3 separate regions of the Homo sapiens genome follow, and regions 1 and 2 are each linked to region 3. The links are contacts of gene promoters, found by promoter capture Hi-C in human tissues and cell types (Jung and others, 2019). All regions are on one chromosome and are shown on one strand. The core of a region is centred on a gene start or on the middle of the fragment in contact, and the rest is flanking DNA. Distances in the headings are between cores, read along the strand shown.

What was found. The method cuts DNA at HindIII sites, captures the fragments that hold promoters and counts their contacts. A contact is called where the count stands out against the background at its distance.
Region 1: a contact is called between a fragment that was not itself captured here and the fragment with the promoter of SCEL in region 3, in 4 of the 25 tissues and cell types used here (dorsolateral prefrontal cortex, lymphoblastoid cells, mesenchymal stem cells and 1 more).
Region 2: a fragment that was not itself captured here is called in contact with the fragment with the promoter of SCEL in region 3 in 4 of the 25 tissues and cell types used here (H1 embryonic stem cells, dorsolateral prefrontal cortex, lymphoblastoid cells and 1 more).

Annotation. Positions count from the first base shown.
Region 1 is chr13:77,131,232-77,135,117 of GRCh38, reverse strand. The region is part of intron 52 of MYCBP2 (MYC binding protein 2); the gene reads left to right. Among named protein-coding and RNA genes, the nearest start is that of MYCBP2-AS2, 52 kb to the right of the region's middle. The HindIII fragment of the contact is 7,245 bases long and covers 1-3,886 here.
Region 2 is chr13:77,172,489-77,176,312 of GRCh38, reverse strand. It overlaps MYCBP2 (MYC binding protein 2), which reads left to right. Exons shown (of 83, transcript NM_015057.5): 37 at 1,824-2,002. Among named protein-coding and RNA genes, the nearest start is that of MYCBP2-AS2, 93 kb to the right of the region's middle. The HindIII fragment of the contact is 3,956 bases long and covers 150-3,824 here.
Region 3 is chr13:77,533,432-77,537,457 of GRCh38, reverse strand. SCEL (sciellin) reads right to left here and starts at 1,752. Exons shown (of 33, transcript NM_144777.3): 1 at 1,634-1,752. The HindIII fragment of the contact is 8,761 bases long and covers 1-4,026 here.

The DNA.
Region 1 (3,886 bases), core at 913-3,412, 400 kb after region 3:
TTAAAACAATTTTGTATTGACATCAATGTGTGCACGTTATTTGGATCCCAACTCAAACAAACTATAGAGAGAGGAATGGGGGCAGAGATTGGAAGTTTGAACACTGACTGAATGTTGGATGAATTATTTTTAAAAATAAGATTACTATAATTACCCATTTTAGATAATCCTTAAAGTGATCTTGTCATGCTGTCTTGTTTACTCATGTTTTAGAATTCGTGTATTCATCGTTAAGTATGAACTTTAGCTCAATTTGGATCTATCAGTCTTTCTATTTAAACACCATATTTGACTGAAAAATATTCATATCCTAATTTAGTTCAAAGTGACTTTAACTGTTTTTAGTAATGCTCTAGTTGAGAGACAAAATAACATTAGACATTCATATTATGACTGTATCGTTTCCAAAATAATTTTTAAGTCAATGGGAAAGATAGAGCTAAATAGATGAAGGGTTCAGATCCTCTGTGAGGCATTCATTATCAATTATGTAGAACTTTTTGCCCTTTTTAGAACACTTTTCCTTTTTTTTTTTGTTATTTTTGTTGTTGTTTTTTGTTTTGTTTTTTGTTTGTTTGTTTGTTTTTACAGCACCTTGCCCTGCCACCCAAGCTGGAGTTCAGTGGCACGATCTTGGCTCACTGCAACCTCCACCTCCCAGGTTCAAGCGATTCTTATGTCTCAGCCTCCCAAGTAGCTGGTATTACAGGCATACACCACCACACCCAGCTAATTTTTGTATTTTTAGTAGAGACGGGCAGGGTTTTACCATGTTGGCCAGGCTGCTCTCGAACTCCTGGCCTCAAGTGATCCACCTACCTTGGCTTCCCACAGTGCTGGGATTACAGACTGGGATTAAAGACGTGAGCCACTGCACCCGGCTGAGAACATGCTTTCCAGTTTTATGTCTTAAGAGTCTTTGTTTTGTTGTCTAATTTATCTAGAATGGTTTCACTTCCATTTTTTTCTAATCTTAAGTTGTCCAGACTCAAAAATTGGTTGGTGATCTTCTCTTTATTTTCCATTTTTGCTATAGTCATTAATTCATTAATTGCTCATTTAGTAAATATTTGAGTTCTTATTCGTAGAATTCTTATTTGCATTCTTGTTAGTAATAAATACTAAGCTGGAAAGTAGGCATTGGGTGGAGATGCAGAGGGGAGGGATACAGAGTAAATAACATGGGGTGAAGTTCTGATCCTTGGAGTACTCACCATGTAATGTGGTAGACATACCATATTCACATAATTAAATTGCATTGTGATAAGTTGTGGAATGGCTTCACTTAAGTGACATTTGAGGAGGACTTGAAGAAAAGTTGCCAGGAAACAGTAAAGGAATTTCTAGACAGAGAATCAAATGTTCAGAGTTATGGGGACATGCTATGTATGTGAACTAATGAATAGTTGATATAGGTAAAGCAGAGAATTGAGGGTGGAAAACAGATATGTACTGGGGAGAATAGCTTTCTCTCTTCCTTCTCAGGCAGCACTTAATCTGTAGAAGTAGAGAAGGCTTACTTCTTTCTCCAGCTACCCATAATATTTGTTTTTCTTGCCTTCAGCCCATTTGTGTTTATGTACCTCTTATTTCTGTTTTTAAGCTACTTAAGGATAAGGACTCATTCAGGATCCCTTCTCACTCACATTTGTTTCTTCCTAAGCATTAAAAATTACACTTTGCTCATAGTAGGTTTTCACAGTTTGTTGATGCTTTACACATTTGTGGATGCTTAATTTTAGTTCTTTGCATTTGATATGATCATTCTGTTTAAAATAATTTCTAACATATATATGCTCCTTGCCTTAATTATCTCATTTAATCCTCATTGTGACCCTGTGATGTTAAGCATATTATAATTCTCATTTTTGCAATGAGTAAAGATAGCCACTCACCCAGGATCACAAGTAGAAAGTAGTGGAGCTGGTATTGGAACACCAGTTGATATGATTCCAAAGCCCATGCATTTATGTTCCGTATGCATTAATCTAGTGGAGAGATAAGGATAAATATAGTTATAAAAGGATGAAGCAACTATAGCTGTAATAATCCTGTTACTTTGACTAGAACTGCCAAACTACAGAAAGATAAATACTTATAACCTTAATGGTTGAATGAGGATGAATACCATATGTATTGAAGATGACATGAGTTATTCTTTGATTGCATACCTGGGGAACATTGATTGATTTTAAATTAAAATTCTGAAGATGTGGAATCTGCAAAATGTGAGCTAGTAGAATGTTTCAAATATCAGGGACAATGCAAGTAAAAAGATGAAGAGAGAATTTATTATGCACCTACCAAGGAAGACATTAGACTCTGGAATCACAAGCTTAATTTTTTGGAAAACAAGTGTACTTCTATGATAGGAGATGTTAATGGTTTCAAACTTACACACCCAATTCTTTGGGTACTCTGTCAAAAATGAGATCTTTTAACATTGTGAGGGGGGTTGAGTGGAAGAGAAAGTTTATATCAAGGGAAGTAGATGATAGACAAATGGAAGTATTCTGAGGTATCTTTATAGTTCCCATATAATCTGAATTCTTACAGAATTGAGTTTCTGTATATCTCCATGCATTTATACAGATTACTTCTTATTTTAGGCTGATGGGTGTTCACATATAGAAAGTATACTGATTTTCCAAATTTTGGAACCTGAAAGATTTGAAGTAGAGTTGAAGAGAAAGTATCATTTGTTAATCTTGTTTGTATAGCTTCACCTGGGTTAATTGATAAAATTGGCAAATGTTTCTTGCATTTTAAATCCAATTTCATTCCTTTTTACCTAATAACATTAAATCCAATTTCATTCCTTTTTGCCTAATAACACTTAGCAGTCACAGCTTTAACATACCCCAGATTTCCTGATTTTGTTAATAGCTTTGTGTGTATGTGTATACATAACCCGTGTTTTAATCTCAATAATATTAACTTAATACAACATTAGTAAATGTGCTGTTCTTATATGGTTAAGAACAGCTTTATTTCATTCTTTAGCTTAGTGTTAAAGTTTCGTAAACAGAATGAGATTAAAACAGTTAAATTAAGATTGTAATAATATATATACGCTATTCTTAATTTTCCTGAGTCATTTCATCATTTTGCTTTAACAATGGCAATTCTTAGCTTTGTGCTTATCTAACACAAGGAAAGATTTTTTTCTTTTATTTGCATGAGCATTTGGCATGGTTGGTCACTTATTTTCACTGTGATAATTATTCACTTGTTGGTCTCTTTTCTACGCCATGAAAGATTATCAGCTTAGAGTTGCAATTTGGTGTTCATTAATTTAGTTAGATTCCCAGTATGCTTTAATTTTCTAATTTTCTTGACAGAACTTTTCTGCCTTTAAAATAGTATTTGAGAATGAAATGTTATTTTATATATATGTGTGTTCGTATATACACATGCACACACAAGCTGTGCTTATAATAATCTGTGAAATTATACTATATGAAAGCTAACATATTTTAATAGTGAGAAATTGGGGCTTTGGAAAAATTAACATTTTCCTGAATGTTCATATCTTTAGACTAAAACATTTCTAAATTTCCAAAGAACACTATTCAAGTGTGTGTGTGTGTGTGTGTGTGTTTGTTTGTGTGTGTGTGTGTGTGTGTGTGTTTGAGATGAAGTCTTGTTGTTGCCCAAGCTGGACTTGAACTTCTGGGCTCAAGGAGTCCTGCCTTCTCAGCTTCCCACGTAGCTGTGACTACAGGCATGTACTACCATGCCGAGCTATATTTTTAAATTATTTTGTAGAGACGAGGTCTCTCTGTCTTATCCAGGCTGGTCTCGAACTCCTGGATTCAAGCAATCCTCCTGTCTCAGCCTTCTGAATAGCTACGAGTATAGGCATGCACTACTCACCCAGCTATTC
Region 2 (3,824 bases), core at 878-3,377, 360 kb after region 3:
TTGCATAATGTTTCTTAAAGTCAGGAGTAGTAGGAAGTTTTGTAGTCAAACAGACTTAGCTTTGGATACCTGCTGTTCCACATGCTGACTTTAAGACACTGGCAGATCATTATTTAACCACTTTGAGACTTATCTGTAGATTGGGAAGAATAATACCTGCATTGTAGTAGTATTGAGATTAAATAATGGAAATAAAACACCTGCCTTAGTGTCTAGCACAATATGAAAAATAAATATTAGCTCCTGTCTTTTCTTCTCTTATTGTGCCCTAACTCATTTAAAAAAAAAAAAAAGTGTTTTTGTTTTGTTTTGTTTTGTTTCTTTATTTTTTTTTAATTATTATTATTATTTTTTTTTAGATGGAGTCTCACTCTGTCGCCCAGGCTGGAGTGCAGTGGTGTGATCTTGGCTCACTGCAACCTCTGCCTCCCGGGTTTAAATGATTCTCCTGTGTCAGCCTCCCGAGTAGCTGGAATTACAGCCACGTGCCACTATGCCCAGCTAATTTTGTATTTTTAGTAGAGGGGTTTCACTGTGTTGACCAGGCTGGTCTCGAACTCCTGCCCTCAAGTGATCCACTCCGCTTGGCCTCCCAAAGTTCTGGGATTACAAGCGTGAGCCACCGCGCCCAGCCTATTTCCTAACAATATTTGGCAAAATAGAGAAATTTTACCACATCAAAGTAATTATAGATGTTAAAATAAAATTAAAGTATTTCTGAATTCAACTGAAATAAATTTCATTATAGAGCAGAATTTTGGATAAGATCGGTACACGAGAGGTTTCATCAGGAAGAATTTAGATACTGAAAAACCAAAAAGCTTTTATTGTGAAATTTATATCATGGGTCATAAAGCATTAGTTTCTATAGCTCACATTTTAAAAGTACAGTGCATTATATTTTGGACAGCTTTTTTCCTATGGGTTTTTTTTCTCATGTCTGTTTGCCTATATATTTCTATCTCTGAGTTTTTCTTAAAAATATAATAGACTCACCATTTTTTTCCTCACATCTAAAATTATTTTAAAAGTTAAACTAGTCAAGGAAAAGTATCAGCTTATGCAATTAAAATCCCTTATTGCCGGGCACAGTAGCGCACACCTGTAATTCCAGTACTTTTGAGACACCAGGGAGGGAGGATCACTTGAGCTTGGGAGTTTGAGGCTAGGCTGGGCAATATAGTCAGACCTTATCTCTACAGAAACACCCTAAAAAATTAACTGAGTGTGATGGAACACACCGGTGGGAGGATTGCTTGAGCCCAGGAAGAGGAGGCCACATTGAACCAAAATTGCACCACTGCACTCCAGGCTGGGTGACAGAGCAAGATCCTGTCTCAGAAAAAAATATATATATATAATATATAAAATATATATATATTATATATATATAATATATATTATATATATATAGTATGGCTAATATTCTAGCAGTAAAATTAAGAGCAGGCACTAGTTACATTGGTTGTGTTCAGACCTAGTTCCATCACTTACTAGCTGCGTGACTTTGAACAAGTTACTTAACTTCTCTGAACCTCAGATTCCTCATCTGTAAAATAGGGATAGTAATGATACTTACCTTATGAGGTCATTTTAAGGATTAATTAAATTCCATAAAGTAGTTAGGACAGTTGCTTTTATGCAACAGGTGTTCAGTAAATGTTAGCCGTCATCGTGTTTGATTCATTAAAAACTTATTTAATTATATCATCTGTAAATATGACAAAGAATTTCAGTATATTTGCCTATTTTACTGCTAGAGTTCTTTTTATATATCCTCTGTACATTGTGAATAAAAGATGTTTTACATCTTTATAATGAAGGAAAATGTTAAATATGCTGTGCGCTTGAGGAACTATGGAAGCCGTACAGCCAATGGAGATGGAGGAATGACCACAGTTCAGTGCCCTGATGGTGTGACATTCACATTCAGCACGTGCAGCTTGAGCAGTAACGGCACAAACCAAACCAGAGGACAGATCCCACAGATACTCTACTATAGGTGGGTGAATGTATAGAGATAACGGAAATACTTTACAGTGGTAGAACATACACAGTCTACTACCAGGTAAAATTGCTAACTGGATACTTATAATTAAATTGTACAGTGTATCTTCTTAGCACATACTTGTACAAATTCATATAAAGAAATCTCTTTTTAATATATAAATTCAATGTTTGCTACAAAAGTTAATGCTTTAAAATATTTTTGCTGTTATTTCTTCAATATCATTGAAATGTTTGTGTACTGGGCATATGTGCTGTTGCTGTCACTCTATAATTTCTGGTCTGCAATTTCAAATTTAAAGGATATTCATTTCTTTTTATAAAATACCTCAAACTAATGATCAGATAGACTGTACTCAGATAGTGGTGTTGCCTTGATCTTGTTATCTAGTCACAGAATATTTTGATGTCTGTGAATCTTGGACCTGCCCCCTGGGGCCCTAGAATATATAATAGTGTGTTTCTTATAATGTTTTTAACAAAAACCATTCCTTATGTAAACCTTGGAAAATAAAAGAATGATAACAACCCTTGGGTTAAAAAAATCTTTTAAATAAACATTTCTCACTGAGTCTGAATTTTTCTTGTAGCGGCAAAGCTGGCGTCTTAGGTAGTCATGAGTACCATTTACCACATTTGTCCTCAGCCTGACTTGGCATTAAATCACTGAATTTCCATGTCACTTTCAGAGGCTTGCTGCTTCCTCTCTTTCCTTCATGAAGAGTCTAGGGATGGTGCCTACGTAGATAGTATAAAATAATTTCCCTAGATATAGATTTTCTGCTTCCTCTTTCCATCAGAAATAGAATAGAAATAGCAGGCAGCAAATAGCTATGTAGTTCATTGTTGCTGCTGAAATACAAAAGCTGTCTAGTCTTTTGCCCCAGTCAAGAAAAGCTTTCTGTTACATAAGCACTACAATAAATAGTACATTATTCTCTTTCTTAAACTATGGATTAAAAACTCTGTTATGCGTAAGAGTTACGTGTTTCAGAAAGCTGGAGAGCCACTAAGAGCATCTGCCATCCAAACTTTATATCTTATACAAAATACAGTGTTTTGAGTATTTTCATGTTTTCTATTAAGCTTTAAATACCCTTAGCTTTACATTTTTTATAAATGAAAAATGTTAAAGTCCTTTAGTTTTAAATACCATCCTGCTCTGATAGCTCCCAAGTTTACATCCCTAGCCTTCATGACCTCTGAGCCCTGGACTCCGGGTCTCTCTTCTGACATCTTCATTTGGATGACACTAGTGGAGATGGTGTTAGTTACTGTGTGCCAGGACATGCTTTGAGTATGTTACCTGTGTTATTTCACCTTGTCCTCACAGTAACCCCAGGAGGTAGGTACTTTCCTTATCCCTGTTTCACAGATGATGGAACTGAGACGCTGAATTGTCTAGAGTCACACCTCTGTTAAGTTACGCTACTGCGACTTGTAGGCAGGAAGTCAGATTTCAGGTGATACACCCTTAACCAGAATGCTGCACTTTCTCTTTAAGGATGTTCGTTATAGTTGGCTAGTAGACATCTGAGGTTTCATGTGGCTAGAATATTCATCTCCCTTCCACAGTTACAGCCAGACACCTTGGAGTCATTCTGGACTTCTCTTTCCCTCATACTTTACACCTAGTTCATCAAGAAGTCCTGTCAGCTGTACTTCTAAAATGTCCTAAATGTGACCTTTTCTTCTACTTCCATATTTAATAGTCTAGACCAAGCCACTGCAACCTCTACCTGCTAACTGTAATAAGCCTCTAAACTAGTCTCCCTCCTTTCACTATTGGTCTCCTACAATCAGTTCTCTACAGCACA
Region 3 (4,026 bases), core at 503-3,002:
CAGTCTGTGATGGAGTGTGGCTCATTTATTGCTACTACATATTTTATGATAAAAAGCATTTGAAAAAATATTGAGAAAATTCAGTAAGACAAAAGACAAGCAATCTGGCATCGTGCTCTGGTTCTGCTACTCTGATCTTCACAAGTTGCTTAACATTTATGCTTTGATTTTCTCAACTAGAAAATTCAGGCATTAGACTAGATGGGCCTATGCTCCGTTTCAGTTGAAATATTCTGTCAATTAGATCTAAGATTTATACGACGCTAACATTCCAATAAAAATTCTGGCCTGTTGTTGGCATTCTATGCATATCCCGACATTTAGGATCATCTGAATGTTTTACTAAAATTTTTACTGTTGTCATTTCTCAGTTTTCTCAAATTGATGTTTCCAATACTTTAAACACTGGAGCACCACATATATTAGGAAGGCTTTATCTACGTTATAAACTATGGAAGTGAAAGACAGTTTTAAATGTAATCACATTTTATGAAAAATAAAATTATCCACACTTGCTACACTTTAGTTTTCTGGTTACTATAAACACTTGAAAGCCAAGTTGTAAAATTCTTCTGTAAACCTTTGGGAAATGAGCACTGGTGTGTCTAACCCCCTCTCAGACTGCAGGTGACCTTGTCAGCAATAGGAAGCCATGAGAACTCAAGTACTACAGATAGAGCCAGGTATGCTGTGGGGGCACCTCTCTGGAGGACACAGAGCTGCAATTTGCAAGCTGTGAGTGGCCCCTGCATTTGAATCCCACAGCTCTGTATCATAAATAGAAATGATGAGAAAAAACACAAGTCAGCTTAGCTATTAATTATAAAAGAAAGCTCTGTTAAAAGAACTCTTCTAGCCTTATCAAAAGTCTCCCAAAACTGGTTTTTCAGGACTAGGCTATGAATAAAGTTTGAAAATTGCCCCCATATACATTAATCACTCCTTAGGTTAGAATGCAGAATATACCATAGAGAAGTTGGCCAGATGCCCACAGATCCCTGTGAGGAACCATGTACCCTTATTCTGCTCCCACACCCTGCCTTTACTCCTTGGTACTTTCAAGTGAGAAATGGTGATTTTCTTATTTGGGGAAGATAGGGTGGAGACAAAAACCTCATAAATATAAACCTCTCTCTCTCTCATAGCTCAGCAACTTGCAATATTTTTAGCAGTAGAGAAAAAAATAAATATGACTTATTAACTATAAAGCAATATTTGAGTTCACTATTTCACTAAAAGCATCATTTATGAAAACAGAAAGATCCTTTAAAAAATGTTTGTATAGTCGCTTGAGAAAATAAACCAGCAGGTGCTGGTCCCTTCACTTAAAGAATTTATTATCCTTTGTGTGGCAGGATTCACCAGCTGACAGCTCCCACCCAGAAAATCAAATAGGTGCTCGTTTCTGTGATGCCCATAACGTGTAAAATTGCCAAGAAGTTCAATGCAATGTGACCTAAAAGTACAGCAAGGAAGAGCAGAGCTAACAGCCAGCTGGAGGCTGTCAAAATTTACAGGAAGAAAAGACAAAGATAATACAGTAAGTTCTAATTTTAATCATTTGTAAGGAACACAGAGAAAGCTGTGCACATACAGCAGATGTATTTCTGTTTGCAAGTATAATTCAACTTACCTCTATTGAGCAGAAAATCAGGACTTTTTGGCTAACCAGCCTGTAGTGATTCCCTGGGAGGATCTGGCTGAAAGAAATGGGAACCTAGAGTTTATTCAGTGGAGTCTCAACCTCTACCTGACTGTATTAGTGAACAGTTCAGAGGTTTCTTGCTCAGCGGCTGAGTCACTCAGGGAGGAGGTGTGTGGTATGCAACAGGGTGTCACCTTGTACAAATACCAGTTCAATTAAAGCATTCTCACTCATATACCTACTGTCTTTGTTTGAATTCTTTGTTTAACTTATGGCCTTATGCAAAAAAAAAAAAAACATATATATATATATGCTCCTGTGATCACCCTTTTAACTGATATCAACAGTATGCACAACCATATCACTGACAAGGTGGCATAGGACCCAACCTATTTTGTATTCTCTTTCAAAAAATAAAATTGAAAACTCAAGATAGAAGGAACCCCCATACACCCATAGTACCTGGAAGGCAGGGGCACAGACAAGCATGCAAGGAGTATATGGCTTAAAGGAATCTTCAAGACAAACAAATTCTCAGAAACCCAGGAACCCTAGGATTAGAAAACACAAAAGAAGTCTGTTCCACACATTCTACACCTAGACTATTTTGTAAAACTATCAGAGGGAAAATACACCTAGCATGTAAGAATTCTAATCTCTATCTTATTTATCCATGTATAAAAAAATGTGAAAAGGGGCCAGGCGTGGTGGCTCACATCTGTAATCCCAGGACTTTGGGCGGTGGAAGCAGGCGGATCACCTGAGGTCAGCAGTTCAAGATCAGCCTGGCCAACATGGTAAAACCTGATCTCTACTAAAAATATAAAAATTAGCTGGGCGTGATGGCACACACCTGTAACCCCAGCTATATTAAATAACTATAACACACCATGATAAAGTCATATACAGAAATTTTCAATGCCAGGCATCGCATAGTGGAGAGAAGGAAGAACCTGGAAGGTGATGTTGATGCAGAGTTTTAAAGTCTGAGTGGACAATGATTAGATGGTCAAGAAGAAGAAGAACCATTCATCCACTCTGGCAGGAGGAGGCAGGAGAATCACTTGAACCAGGGAAGTGGAGGTTACAGTGAGCCAAGATCACACCACTGCACTCTAGCCTAGGCAACAGAGTGAGACTGTCTCAGAAAAAAAAAAAAAATGTGAAAAGGATGGTTGAAACTTCTTTCAATGCTGAGGGCAGCAGTAGACCCAACATCAAAGGCTGCTTCTGGCCAGTTGCAGTGGCTTTCACTTGCACTTTGGGAGGCCAAGGTGGGAGGATCACTTGAGCCAAGAAGTTCGAGACAAACTGGGCAACACAGTAAGAGAAGATCTCATCTCTACTAAAAATAAAAAAATCAGCTGGGTGTGGTAGTGCATGTCTTTGGTCCCAGTTACTCAGGAGGCTGAGGCAAAGAGAGTCTCTTGAGCATGGGAGGACCAAGCCACAGTGAGCTGTGATCACACCACCGCATTCCAGTATGGGTGACAGAGTGAGACCCTATCTCAAAAAACAAAACAAACAGACAAAAAAAACAAAAAAAACCCAACAAAAAACAAAGGCTGCTTCCGCTGGGAGGAAGGAGTAACACTGAAGAGCCATTCTAGGCGGGGACTCCTGTTACAGGTTTTGAAACACACCTTCCCTAAGAGCCAAAGAGGCTTTAAAGAAGCTTAGCAAACATTGTTGAGAGAAGCCACGTCATCAGAACTTCCTGGGTGATCGTCATTCATATGTCACACCAGCAATGAACCAAATCCCCCCTGAACAACTGCTCCTGAAAACTACAATGCAGCTGAGTGACGCCCACTGAAATGACTGTAACAAGAAGCAGAAACCCAGACTGAAGAGCAAGGCAATTGCAGTATGTGGTCATTGTGACTGGGAGACCACTTCCTGTATGTTCCCTGATGTTCCCTTATTCTGGGCTGAGGAATTTGAAAATCTAAAATGGAAAATGTTCTTTCAAAGTAAAACATATATACGTGTCTACTCAGCTTTTTTATGGAATTTTATACATGCAAAATATTTTTAAAATATGCTTTAAGTTTCTGTGATGCCCAAAAATCTTGGTTTGAATATTAATATTACAAATGATAAAGCTGAAAAACAAAGACGTGACTTAACTCAAAAGATAAACTAGAAGCAATCTTCAGCCTTAGAACTTAGCCAAAAAGAAAGAAAACAGTTTAAGAGCTCCCTTGTAGGGATAAGTTGTAATTTACATTACAGAATGTTGAAATATATTACTTCATGAAACACAGAACCAGAAAGATAAGTTTTTATCTTATAATGAAGTAAAGTGCAGCTACTCAAGTTATGGATTTTGAGCTTCCAAGCAATTATTTCTGCATGCAATTAAGGGTTTCTCTTACTTT